Linked DNA regions of Homo sapiens: regions 1 and 2 are each linked to region 3. Evidence: promoter capture Hi-C in 16 types of primary human blood cells and fetal thymus (Javierre and others, 2016). All regions are on one chromosome and are shown on one strand. The core of a region is centred on a gene start or on the middle of the fragment in contact, and the rest is flanking DNA. Distances in the headings are between cores, read along the strand shown.

What was found. Contacts are between HindIII fragments. The CHiCAGO score rates a contact against its expected background, and 5 or more counts as called.
Region 1: a fragment that was not itself captured here is called in contact with the fragment with the promoter of NAA15 in region 3 in 1 of 17 cell types (activated CD4 T cells); the score reaches 5.3 in activated CD4 T cells.
Region 2: a fragment that was not itself captured here is called in contact with the fragment with the promoter of NAA15 in region 3 in 1 of 17 cell types (total CD4 T cells); the score reaches 5.5 in total CD4 T cells.

Annotation. Positions count from the first base shown.
Region 1 is chr4:140,071,678-140,075,966 of GRCh38, reverse strand. All of the region lies in intron 1 of MAML3 (mastermind like transcriptional coactivator 3), which reads left to right. Among named protein-coding and RNA genes, the nearest start is that of MAML3-AS1, 54 kb to the left of the region's middle. The HindIII fragment of the contact is 7,999 bases long and covers 1-4,289 here.
Region 2 is chr4:140,098,087-140,102,954 of GRCh38, reverse strand. The region is part of intron 1 of MAML3 (mastermind like transcriptional coactivator 3); the gene reads left to right. Among named protein-coding and RNA genes, the nearest start is that of MAML3-AS1, 27 kb to the left of the region's middle. The HindIII fragment of the contact is 7,579 bases long and covers 1-4,868 here.
Region 3 is chr4:139,299,674-139,304,169 of GRCh38, reverse strand. It overlaps NAA15 (N-alpha-acetyltransferase 15, NatA auxiliary subunit), which reads right to left and starts at 2,665. Exons shown (of 20, transcript NM_057175.5): 1 at 2,339-2,665. The coding sequence starts at 2,392. It overlaps NDUFC1 (NADH:ubiquinone oxidoreductase subunit C1), which reads left to right and starts at 1,693. Exons shown (of 6, transcript NM_001184989.2): 1 at 1,693-1,754. RefSeq lists enhancers at 2,615-2,674, 3,155-3,274. The HindIII fragment of the contact is 1,328 bases long and covers 1,773-3,100 here.

The DNA.
Region 1 (4,289 bases), core at 220-2,719, 770 kb before region 3:
AACATGGCAAAACCTCATCTCTACTAAAAAGACAAAAAATTAGCTGGTTGTTGTGGTGCATGCCTGTAGTCCCAGCTACTCTTGAGGCTGAGGTGGGAGAATCGCTTGAATCCGGGAAGCAGAGGTTGCAGTGAGCCAAGATCATACCACTGCACTCCAGCCTGGGCGACAGAGAGAGACCCTGTCCCCCTCCGCCCCCACCCCCAAAAAAGACTAGCCTGGGCAACATAGGGAGACGTCATCTCTACAAAAAAAATTTGAAATTGGCCAGTCATGGTGATGTGTGCCCATGGTCCCAGCTACTTAGGAGGCTGAGGTGGGAGGATTGCTTGAGCCCAAGAGTTCCAGGCTGCAGTGAGTTATGATAGCACCATTGCACTCCAGTCTGGGTGATAGAGTGACATCCTATCTCTAAAAATAAAATAAAATAATATGTATCTATGTTTAACTTTCACATTGTGCTTTAAAATATATAAAGTGCACATACATATATGTTCTTTATAACGCTCTATGAGGAAAATTGGTTAGCGAACTCATTAATTGCTAAACATCTAGATTTTGATGTTAAGAGCACAAGAGACTTGCATTTTGTTAACTTGTTTTTTTCTACACATCTATATTTTACTTTTTTCTTAATTCTTTAATGCAGTTAATTTTGGAAAATCTCAGACAGGTGAAAAGTACCTTGACACTGGAAGGAGACATAACCTGGAACAAATTCCTGTCTCTGCCACTTGCTAGCAATGTGACCTTGGCCAAATAGCTTAAATTTCCCAAACTTCAGCCTTCTTATGGATAAATTGGCACTAATAACCTGCCTCACAGAAATGTTATGAGCATTAAATGAGATGATAGATCTAAAGCACTTAACAGTGCTGAGTCTATCATAAGCGTTCAGTAAAGTAAACTACAGGTTGAGTATCTCTAATCCAAAATGCTTGGGACCAGAAGTGTTTTAGATTTTGGATATTTCTGGATTTGGGAATATTTGCATATATATAATGAGATATCTTGGGACTGGGACCCAATTCTAAACACGAAATTCATTTATTCTTCATATGCACCTTGTACACATAGCCTGGTAATTTTATACAATATTCTTAATAACTTTGTGCATGAAACAAAGTTTGTGTACATTGAACTATCAGAAAGCAAAGGAGTCACTATCTCAGCCATCCATGTGGGCCATCTGTGGTTGTTTGGCATCACCGTCATTCCTGACTGTGAATTTATATGGCCCCTATAAGCAATCATTTTCTTACACTTACACACATAAGTACTTAACACTAAAATATGACATACTATGAATACAGTGAAAACTAATGTGCTCAGGGTAACTAAGCAGCACAGTAGCATCACCAGAAGAGCTGGGATGCGGAATAGACTGCATGTTGTGTGCTTGTATTTTGACTGCGACCTGTCATGAGGTCAGGTGCAGAATTTTCCACGTGGGGCATCATGTTGGCACTCACAAAGTTTCAGATTTTGGAGCATTTCAGATTTTAGATTTTTAAATTAAAAATGTTCAACCTGTATGACTGTTGCTGTTAGCTGACCCTTCCGAGGTCATTTGTGGTGGCAGCTGAGGATTCTGCCTTATATGTTTTCAAAGGACCAGGGGGTTGCTGGTAGGTACAAGGAAGGAAGAAGCTGGGGAATAGCTGGGGATGAATAATGACCCTCTCCCTCATAGTACACATGTCCTCTTTCTTTCTTTCTTTCTTTCTTTCTTTCTTTCTTTCTTTCTTTCTTTCTTTCTTTCTTTCTCTTTCTTTCTCTCTCTCTCTCTTTCTTTCTTTCCTTTCTCTCTCTCTTTCTTTCTTTCTTTTTCTTTCTTTTTCGAAGTCTCACTCTCTCGCCAGGCTGGAGTGCAGTGGCACAATCTTGGCTCATAGCAACCTCCACCTCCCGTGTTTAAGCTATTGTCCTGCCTCAGCCTCCCGAGTAGATGGGACTACAGGTGAGCGCCACCATGCCCGGTTAATTTTTGTATTTTTAGTAGAGATGGGGTGTCACCATGTTGGCCAGGATGGTCTTGATCTCTTGACCTCGTGATCTGCCCGCCTCGGCCTCCCAAAGTGCTGGGATTACAGGTATGAGCCACCACACCTGGCCACGTGTCCTCTTTCTGATTACTTTGCTCCCTGCTCCAAACCAGGCCTCCTGTTTGATTTTGGTGACCCCAGTTTCTCATTAATATCCTCCTCAGAACTTTCCAATCAAGGCACTAAAATGAGTTGCAAAAAGCAACATATGGATTATTTTGAAGACTATTTTTTCTAGCTTTAGAAGCTGTGAATGTTGCTTGACTCACATACACCCCCTGTCCCCAAAATGGCAGGCGGAGGGTATGGATATCCCCATATCTCATGTCTCTTGTATACTGTGGGTGCCTGGCACAATACCTCACAGCCAGGAAGTAGGTGCTCACTGCAGGGTGGGAGAAAGATCAAAACACCAGGGAACTCATCTATAGTACCAGAGTCTCTCTGATGGAAGTCTATAAGAAATTTTGTTGAAAAAGTGAAGGGTTGGGCGAGGTGGTTCACGCCTGTAATCCCAGCACTTTGGGAGACCTACGTGGGTGGATCACTTGAGGTCAGGAGTTTGAGACCAGCCTGGCCGACATGGTGAAACCCTGTCTCTACTAAAAATACAAAAATTAGCCGGGCATGGTGGCAGGCGCCTATAATCCCAGCTACTTGGGAGGTTGAGGCACGAGAATTGCTTGAACCCAGGAGGTGGAGGTTGCAGTGAACCAAGATCTTGCCACTGCGCTCCAGCCTGGGTGACAGAGAGAGACTGTATCTCAAAAAAAAAAAAAAGAAAACATGGATATAAATTGGTATGGAAAGCCAGATGGTTGCAGATTTGTTGATTTCCAGTTCTCCCATAGATTTTATAGTGCTCATGACCAGCCATCCTCCTCCCTCCCTAGACAAACACACTTTCTGTTGGTCAGGTTGAGAGGCGACTTAAATTTAGAGAAATTTCACCCAGGAAATGCTCATATTGGGATGAACACATAGGACCCCCTGTTTCTTTTTACATCTTCTGTGTTAGCCCAGAAGAAGTGACAAAGAAGTGGCAACTTCATGCAGCGTATCCTCTTCTACCTCCCTTTTATATTTTTCTACTGGTGAGGTACAGCTGTCCCTTGGTGTCCATGGGGGATGGCTACAGGACCCCCTGACAGACACCCAAATCCAGGGATGCTAAAGTCCCTGATATACAATGGTGTTGTATTTGCATATAACTTACGGACGTCCTCCTGTATACTTTTTTTTTTTTTTTTTGAGACGGAGTTTTGCTCTTGTTGCCCAGGTTGGAGTGCAATGGCACGATATTGGCTCACCACAATCTCTGCCTCCCAGGTTCAAGCGATTCTCCTGCCTCAGCCTCCCAAGTAGCTGGGATTACAGGCACGCGCCACCATGCCTGGCTAATTTTGAATTTTTAGTAGAGACGAGGTTTCTTTATGTTGGTCAGGGTGGTCTTGAACTCCTGACCTCAGGTGATCCGCCCACCTTGGCCTCCCAAAGTGCTGGGATTACAGGCATGAGCCACCACGCCTGGCCTGTATACTTTAAGTTATCCCTTGATTTCTTATAATACCTAACACAATGTAAATGCTATGTGAATGGTTGTTACACTGTATTGTTGAGAGAATAATGACAAGAAAAAAGTCTGTACATGTTCAGTACAGTCATAATTTTTTCCTTCAAATATTTGGAAAATATTTGGAATATCTGTTGGTTGAATCCACAGATGCAGAATCCATGAATACGGAGGGCTGACTGCACTCATGTCTAGAGAAGGAAGGATTATGGCAGCTACTGAGACCTATCAATGGTTTTCTTCACTTTTAATACTGTTGAGGGAGTGGGTGGAATGAAAGCCGGAAGTGTCTGGGTGACAAACCAATGTTGAGGTACTTGTGGTTGCTTTTTGGATCACAACAGGCTGTCTGTTCTCCCCCTTCCTCCCCCACGTCCACCACATGGGTTCATATCTCAGACATGAACACATTCTTCAAATATTACATTCTAGGACATTCTTGCACCCCACACCAGCCTGCCCAAGGGACTTTCTGATCATGAATGAGAGCTTTCTTAACTAACAATATTCTTGACCATCTGTTCAGCTGGTCACTGAGAACATAAAGCAGATGCGTGCCTTCTCTCTCTCTCTCTCTCTCTCTCTCTCTCTCTAATCCTGGTCCCTGTAAAATTATAAGTGTAAAGATTTTCTGTGTATTGGATCTGAAAGAGAATGTACGCTGATACGTT
Region 2 (4,868 bases), core at 2,136-4,635, 800 kb before region 3:
GTCAGTTTTTCTGGATTTTACATTTGTCTTCCTATAGCTTCAGCTTCCCTTCTTTCCTTTACTTCCTACTGTGGCCTTCATTCTCTTCACTTGGTGGTGATGAGTAATTTTACACAAGGCCATTTTCTCTGGACATAGACTGAGGCAGTGATGGGATGGTGAAGTACCACGGATAGTAATCAGGGGGACCACAGATAATGGCAGGGAGCCAGGGTGTCTACCCTGGCTCTGCACTGACTGGCTTGGTGATTTGTAGAGTTCTTAGGGACTGACTCATGTGCCTGCAAAATTCATAGGCTGAAACCCTAATCCTCAATGTGACTGTATTTGGAGGGCGGGCCTTGAAGGAGATAATTAAGGTTAAATGAGGTCATAAGGGTGGGGCCCTAATCCAGTATAACTGGTGTCATTTTAAGAAGGGGAAGAGACATCAGGCATAAGCATGCACAGAGAAAAGGCCACATGTGAGGACACAGATAGGAGGCGGCCATCTGCAAGCCAAGGATAGAGGCCTCAGGAGAAACCAGCCTTGCTTGGCACCTTGATCTTGGACTTCCAGCCTCCAGAACTGTGAGAAAATAAATTTCTGTTGTTCAAGCCACCCTGTGTTATTTTCTTACGGCAGCAATAGCAATTGCTAAATACAAATATAGGAGAAAAATGAAGTCTCTCTAGGATTCCATTTCCCATCTTGAAGATGGGGCTAGAAATCGTTTCTACAATAGAGAGTTATATGAGAATAAACAACATAATGTAATCAATATAGTGCCTCAATTCATGCCTTCTCATAGATGGAGAATTTATGCCCACAAGCACAGGCTAGTGTCCATTTTCTAATAACTCAGCTTTTTGCTGAGTACTTAGCATTAAAACAAAACAACACAAATCATTTATACATGTTAAGTTTCAAGTTTCCCACTTCATTTTGCCTGGCTGATGGCTCTTAGAAGACACAAACTTATGGCACAGATGACTTCTTCTGGTTCTAACTTGTGTTATCTCTTTTTCAAAAGTTAGTTAAATTCTCCATATATTTTAGTGTTGTTCTATTGGCTAGAAAGACAAAACAAGGGGAATCTGGCAAATGTAAAAAAAAAAAAAAAATGCTCAGCTGACCCAGCACGTGGAATTGCATTTACTAATTTAGGCTATTTTATATAGTGGAATAACATATTTGCAAAATGATGATAGTACCTTGAGTTTACCTAGCCTTTTTTTGGCCAAGGAACTGAAGGTGTTTTCAGTCCATAACCTGATTTCATTTCTAATTTACACTGATCTAAGAGGTATCACGTATGCTTCTCTTCATGTGATAGCTAGGCAAATGAAGACACAAACATTTCTTCCTCATATACACAAGAGATGTGGATGGTAAAAGACTGAAATGGAGGGTCTCCTGGCTTCCTGAGTAGAATTCTACCAAATTGTTCCTGAAGTTATTAACCACATTTGCCCCAATATCTGTTGACAGATAGAACAGCTGTGGGTAAACTGAACTTATCTGAAAGAAATGTGTATTATACATTACACAAGTGCATTACAACTGCAACTGTCCAAGAGCCTGGTGAGTTTCTCATCCCTTCAACTAGACCATCAGTGACTTGGGAGCTCTATTCTACACAAGGCCACTTTCCTCCCTTTAGAGGAAAAGTGTTCTATTAGGTAGGGTAGGACGCTGGGCCAAAAGGGATTAAAATTGTGTTCCTGTTACCTATTGCTAACTAGCAAACCACACCAAAACTTGACGGCTTAAACAACCATTATTTGATTATATCTGTGATTTTGTTCAAGCAGGGCTCAGCTGAGTGATTCTTCTATTCCATGTAGCGTCGACTCTGGTCCCTTGCTGTTAGTCAGTCAATGGCTGCTCTGATCTGGAGGATCCAATATGGCTTCACTCACCTTCCTGGCACCTTGGCAAGGATGCCTGGAAGACTGAGCTCCCCACTGGGCCTGTCTGCCTCTCCATGGAGCCTTGGAGCCATTCCATGTGGTTTCTCCATTAGGGTACTCATATTTCTTACAGGGAAGCCCAGGGTTCCAAGAGACCAAGGCCAAAACTGTTAGTCATATTAAGCACTAGGTTTGGAAATGGCATAATATCACTCCCATATTCAAAATCACTCCCATACTTGATTGGTCCAAGCAGTTATAGGCAACTCACCTTTAAAAGTGGTGGACGCAGGTTGTGGAATAGACACATCTGTCCATGGAAGAAGGATCAAAGAATTTGTGGTCATTTTTAATCTACCACATATGGTGTATACCTCTGTGGTTTGCTGAGGTTTTTGAAATCTTTTTTTTTTTTAATACACCTAAGACTTCATTTTAAGTGCATCTTAGTTTTGCCAGAATTTGAAGCACTTTGGGAATGGCTTGCTCCGTTTTTACATTATACAAACATACACACACATATATATGTTTTTCCACTAAGAAATGCCTCTATTCACAGGGGCATTGTTTAGTTACTTCTATCCTCATTCTGTCCTTTCAGTTCAATAAATTATCTGTTTGGTTTTATTTTCTTCTTGCAAGGAAGGATAAAACTTGAGGACTGTTTGTAAAAATGAATACAATTTGGTCTCTGTCATGGAGGAACTGAGTCTAGGGGGGTGGACCCTCATAGATATGGATAACTGGAGAACAAAAGTTTAAATAATAAACTTGAGAAAGGCATAGACACATGAGTGGAGGCTTGAGTCAGCAGAGGAAATCCGGGAACGTTGCAGAGAGGAAGTGGCACTGGGGCTAAGCCTTGAAGGAGACAGTGATCTCTACAGATGGGAGGGGGTGGAGTGGGGCTGGCATCCCGGAGGAGTGGCAGTGAGAGTCCATGCACCAGAGCAGATGGCATGCTCCACTCACAATGACTGGGTGCCTGGAACGTGGGGGCTGCGGTCGTTCAAGGGGCAGGGGTGGGGTGGTCATGGGGGAGTTGAGGCTGAACAGATGGGTTGGGGACACGTGGACTTTCTCTGAATGCAGATTTGTTCTGAATGTTATCACCATAGGAGGATTTGTGACAGGGAGTGCCATGATCAAATTTCTGATTTTTGAATGTTGTTTGTAATAGCAGGTTTGGGATGGTTTGAAGGAGTAGTAGACAAAAGGCTGAAAACCCTGTCGGAGAGCAGTAGTCCAGGAGAGATGAAACTGAGTGATAGAATGGAAAAGAAAGGTTTTGAGAGGTGTGTTGGGGAAGGGAGGTTGGAGAAATAACTTTCTGATTGCCAAACATGTGTTCAGACATTCTGCTCATCCTTTATCTAATTTAATTTTCACCAAAATCCATTTTTCATATGCAGTAACTGAGGCTTTGAGATGTTTAAAAACCTCCTAGCTAGAAGTGAATAGGATTGAGATTCAGAGCCAAGCATGTTTGGCTACAAACTGTCTATGATTTCCCATGAAACCTTGCCTTACCCACTGAAAATAACTCCAGGCGGGAGGATTGCTGGAACCCAGGAGTTCGAGACTGCAGTGAGCTATGATGGTGCCACTGTATTCCAGTCTGGGTGGCAGAGTGAGACCCTGTCTCTAAAAACAAAGACAGAAAGAAAGAAAAAAAAGAAAATAGCTACAGATTTCTTACTTGTGAGACTGGGTGGATGCTTGTGTCAGTAACAAAATTAAGAACTCAGTATTTTGCTTAAGGCTTTTAAAAAAGTTTTGCTCCTGAGTTGTTTGTGTGCACGTGTGTGTGTGTGTGTGTGTGTGTGTGTGTGATATACTTCCAATGTGAACAGAGTTTTATGAACACTTAAAAGTTTTTAGCTAGTGTCTATCAATTCTATCAACAGGAATGTAACAGATCAAAAAGTACTGTAAAACATACAATTCATGTCAATTTTACTGTCCTTATTTTTTTGTGCATAAATTATTCTTGGCCTCATAACTGATTTTATTGCACATTACAATCTTGTAAACAAAGAGCCTATTGTACCACATCTGGAACAGACCGAGACATCAAGGGAGGGCTGGGAAGCAATGGGGAGGAAAAGTAAAAATGAGTCAGAGAAACAATGTAGCAGTTCATGTGGGAACTTCCTCTGAATAGAGGGTATCCCTCCCCCACCTCAAAATAAGTCACCTTTCTCATTTTAAGAGCAAAAAGGCAAGAGAGACAGCAACCTATGTCTCTTAAGTTCTATTTCTGTCTAAACCCTGGAGGCCAGGGTGTGGGTGGCTCCAGGGCTCTGCTTTTGGGTCCCCAGGTGAATAGCCCGATGCAGACCAGTAGCCACATGGCCTTTGTGCCCAGGACTCATGGGCAGCGTGAATCTCACTTGAAAATTCAATCCTTGGTGCAGAGCACCATGAGATATTGAAAATAATGGTGTTTGGCATTGGTACTGCGTCCAGTTGGTTTCATTTTCACAGGCTTTCAGAGCCCCTGAGAAGTCCTGGTGATGATACGGGAAGGATAAGAAAGGGGGAATCTGGCTTCTCCCTTTGGTTGGTGAGGCTCTGTGTTTACAACACAGCCTGGCGTATACGAGGTGCTCAATAAATATTTACTAAATGCATGATTGCTTGAATGCCATGTGCCAGCTTCTGTTAAGTGCTTGCCAGCTGATATTTCACTTAATCTTCATAAAAAATGATGAAACCTAGTTCCCCATTACACAGATGAAGAAAACAAGGTCTAGAGAAATAATTTGCCCAAGGACGTGCGCATTGTATGTAATAGAGCTCGGATTCAAAAAACCTTTGCCCTTTTGAGCATACTGCGAATATTTTGAGTGAACTACAAATGTTCTTTATCACAATATTGTTTGGGTATAAATAAACACACTTCACATATGCAAAATAGAAGTTCTCCCAGTTTTTGAAAATGTGAGAACTCTTAAGAACTCCCTGGACCGAGC
Region 3 (4,496 bases), core at 1,416-3,915:
GAGGCGGGCGGATCACTAGGTCAGGAGATTGAGACCATCCTGGCTAACATGGTGAAACCCCGTCTCTACTAAAAAATACAAAAAATTAGCCAGGCGTGGTGGCGGGCACCTGTAGTCCCAGCTACTTGGGAGGCTAAGGCAGGAGAATGGCGTCAACCCAGGAGGCGGAGCTTGCAGTGAGCCGAGATCGCGCCACTGCATTCCAGCCTGGGCGACAGAGCGAGACTCCGTCTCAAACAAACAAACAAAAAAAAGTGCTAACACTTGAGAAAATCTCCATATGAACCAGATATTAGACAATATTAGAGAATGATTGTTATAAGTATACAAGACGATGTCCTTATTCTTAGGAGATGCTTGCTTAAGTATTTAGAGATGAAGTTTTTTGTTTTTGTTTTGAGACAGTCTTCCTCTGTTGCCAAGGCTGGAACTGCAACCTCCACCTCCCGGGTTCAAGCGATTCTTGTGCCTCAGCCACCCTAGTAGCTGGGACTACAGGCGAACACCACCATGCCTGACTAATTTTTGTATTTTCAGTAGAGACAGGATTTCACTACGTTGGCCAGCCTGGTCTCGAACTCCTGACCTCAAGTGATCCATCTGCCTCAGCCTCCCAAAGTGCTGGGATTACAGGCATGAGACACCGTGCCCAGCCTAGAGATAAATTTTACATCTACAACTTACTTTTATACAAATGTATATATACATATACATAGGGAGAGAGAAAGCATATATGGCAAATAAATATAAGTAAAGGTTTATGAGTGTTCCTTGTTCTCTCAACTTTTCAGTTTCATTTTTTTCAAAATAAAGAATTGTGAAAAAGAGATTAAAGATAAATTGCTATTCTAAACTTATGTTACAGTTCTACCTGCACACCAATTAGTCTTTTTAAGGGTTTAAAAGTAACTTTTTTCCTAAAACTATTTTACAGCTCCACCTACACTCTTAGTCTTAAAACAAAACAAAATTCCAGTAAGAATTTCAAGGTAACAGTTTTGCGACACTGCATGTGACTTTCTAATGTTTTTCAAAATGAATTCACTAAATCTGTAGGGCATATGGACACTTTTGTAAAATCAAAGTTAGTTCAAATGGATGATTATTCATTTCTAGAAAAACTGAATCCCCAGAGTTGTTCTACTTTTCAAACAGGTGAAATAAATTATAACTGCGGGGGAAAAGGCTAACACTTTCACACACACATCCCAAATTTTAAAAGTCTTAAATTTGGCAAATACAGTTAATTCTATCATAAGGAAACGTTTGCGTGAAAGGGGGAACCCACATACTAAATGCCAAACAAAAAATGTGCTACAATGTGTTAATTATAGCTCCAAGGCTACAGGACATATTTTACAATGTAAACAGTCCCTGCAAACATCAATGCATTTATGGTTTAAAAAAATACAAACTGCACACATTTGAACCGTAGGGAATAAGTCTGAGCTAGCGTCAACAAAATCCATCTCAAAAGTTCTTATATTCTCATTTCTCTGGTAAGTTTTTGCATGTGTTAATATACTTCAGTGTATAAGAAAAGTCTAGGTCTGCAACGTTTCAACTAAAGACTCAACTTTTTACTTCCTACCGAACCGCCCCCTCGCAATGGGCCCCACCTCCCGAGAAGAGTGACGGGGTGGGGCTGTTTCCCGCTCGGAAACTAAGAAATAAATGCCTCATCCCTACTCCAGAAACGAGAACAACGGAGGCAGAGGAGCTGAAGACTCCAGTATGCAACTGACTACAAGGAGGTAGTCGTTTGAAAAGCTTTCTTTCCTTCTCTGAACTCCTTCTTTCCCTCCTCTCAGGTCATTGGGTGACCCCGGGCCGGGCGGAGACAGGTGAATCCCAAGAGAGGAGGAAGAGGGAGGGACAGATGATGGAGGGAGAACCGCGTTTAGGCAATGAATGAGCCTGCTGCATCCGCACCACCTGTTCCTTCCAAGGGTGCCACCCCGACCTGCCAGCAGGGTTCCCACACCAACCGGGCCGCGACTCCTGCCGGTGTCGCCCACTTGCCCGCCAAAGGCCGGGCCTCTTCTCCCCCAGATCGGGGAGAATGAGAACCGGCAGTCTAGAAGCCGGGAGGTCGGGGCCTAGTCCGGAACCAGGGCCTCAAGCGTGGGGATGGAATGAAGAAGCCTGTGGTCCCTGGCGCGCGGGCCATAGTAGGAACCACAGAGAGGGAGCAAAGCAATGCATTCGGCCTGACGAGAGCTATGAAGGCGGGGTCCCGGGCGGGAGTGGCTCAGTGCCCGCCGGGCCGAGGTTAGGGGTGACAGGCCCGGTTACCGGCTAAATCCTCCCCACCGCTTGCCCGGAGCCTCACACTTACCAAGATCCGCTTGAAGAGCGCATTCTCCTTGGGCGGGAGGCTCACGGCCGGCATCGTTCCGGCTGCTCCCGCTGCTCCCGCCACCACCCGGCTCGGTCAGTCAGTTTGTCCGACCGCCGCCGCTGCCGTTCCGTAGCTGCTTCAGCCTTGAATATCTCGATCCGCCGCCACCACCAGGCCTCGGGTGTCGCCGCGTTGCCCTACCCGGACACCTCCTTTTTCCTCGTTGTCTTTTTTCCTTTCTCACTTAACGCTGCCGCCGCCTCCCCCACTACGGGTCTCCGTCGGCGGTTCACGTGGTAACTGAACAGACCGACAGAGGCAGCCAAAATGGCGGACGCGGAGGGTTTTCCCACCCGGGTCACGCTTCCTAACACGCAGGCGCGGTGACCTCCTTTCCCCACCTCCTCTGGGTTTCGGAGCTTGCCGGGAAACCTGGAGGCTGGCCTGCCTGTGGAGGCCGGGAGGGTCGGGGCAGGCCCCGCCCATCATTTCAGTGCGTGGTACCCTCGAAGCGCCCGCGGAGCTACGGGAGGCTAGGCAAGTACGGTTCAGACCGCCTCCTCATCAAAAACAGCCTCTCTGGCGCCTTCCTGCTAGATCGACCTTTCATTCCTTGGAAAGAGTCTCGCACACTGTGTGATCATCGTTTGAGCCCAAAGTGCTAAAATACAGGTGTAGGTGTTTGAGAAGCGCTGTAGTTGATTATGGACGAAATGCCTAATTTAAGGAGCAGAGGCGGAGTGGAAAATGAAAAAAGCTTCACCGCAGTGGAGACTTGTTAACAGCCCTGGGGAGAAAGGGGCTTAACAGAGTCTGGAAATCGTGAAAGAGCTTGACCGATGAAATGGGCCTGGCTGTCGTATCGGTAATTTGGTGAATGTTGCTTAAGATCAGCCTGGAAAGGTAGTTAGTCAGATCCGAAGTGACATATTTGCACTGCCAAAGGAGGCTCTGGAGGTTAAAGTATGTGTTTTAATTTCGTTGTTGAGGCCATATAATGCAGAGTTGACGGACCGACCTTATGAGTCACCTTGGAGCGGAGTAGTGGAGACTTAAAGACAGACTACCCTGGAGCTGGCTTCAAACTAGTTCTTAATATTGTGACTCGAACTCCCCATCCCCAGAAATTCTCAGATCTTAGAAGCCAAAGACTGGCAAGGATACTAGAGGGAACTACTCGAGTAGGCGAGGTCAGACTACATACCGAATAGGAGTCCTTCCAAAAATGTAAGTCATTTCATTAACAGCTGACCGTAAAACTTTTTCAAAGTGGCATTCCATTGATCTAAAAATTTTCAAGTTATATGAGCCACTTTTAACCTTTGGTTTTTGATTACCTCTTTCCAAATCCTGATTTCACTCTGTAGCATTCTTTGCATCATGAATTATTAAACAATATGTGCGTGTTTTTTACTGTTTTAAATTTATTTGCAAAGATATTTTAATTTTCAAACTTCTCTTAACTGTCCCTGAAAGGTGTGAGTTGAGATACATGTTTCCCAATATAAACTTGGGTTTTGTAGCTGCTATATTGATTGTCCTCGCCCTTCACCGGGGTCATAAATAAGGTTTTTAACAGTCAAATCCTGGAGTTTCCTTAAATTCTGTGATCTCTCTTCAAAAGTTTGAGAAAAATCATATATACAGGAAACTATGTTTCAGTTTGAAATATGGCCAGTATTTTAACCTTAACTTTATAAAACTAAGAACAAGCTTATAATTCATTTTTAAGCTGTTACTTAGTAATAACCTGCAAAATTCACTGCCCCAAGAGATCTTTCAACTGTCTGAACTATTGAAAGACAGAAAAAATAGTCTAAATGCAGTTGATAGTTTTAGCTTGGATTTCCAAATCTCTGGCTTCATATCCAAATTTCTGGCTTCATATCCAAAAATCCCTACAGCAATACTATTTGCTATAGTTCTCTAAATTTCTCCTGTAAAGAATATTCTATTTTCCTTCAGAGGAAGAAAATTTCTGGTCTTTGAAACAATCAGTAGCTTCCACCAGAACCTGAGTACCTGATTAGATGAGCCAGAAATAGAGTTTGGCAAATGTTACATTCTTTTTGGGTGATGACAAAGAAATGGCAATTTTAAAGGCTCGGCAAATACTAGTCTGATTCAACATTTAACTGATTCATTTGCTAGTTAA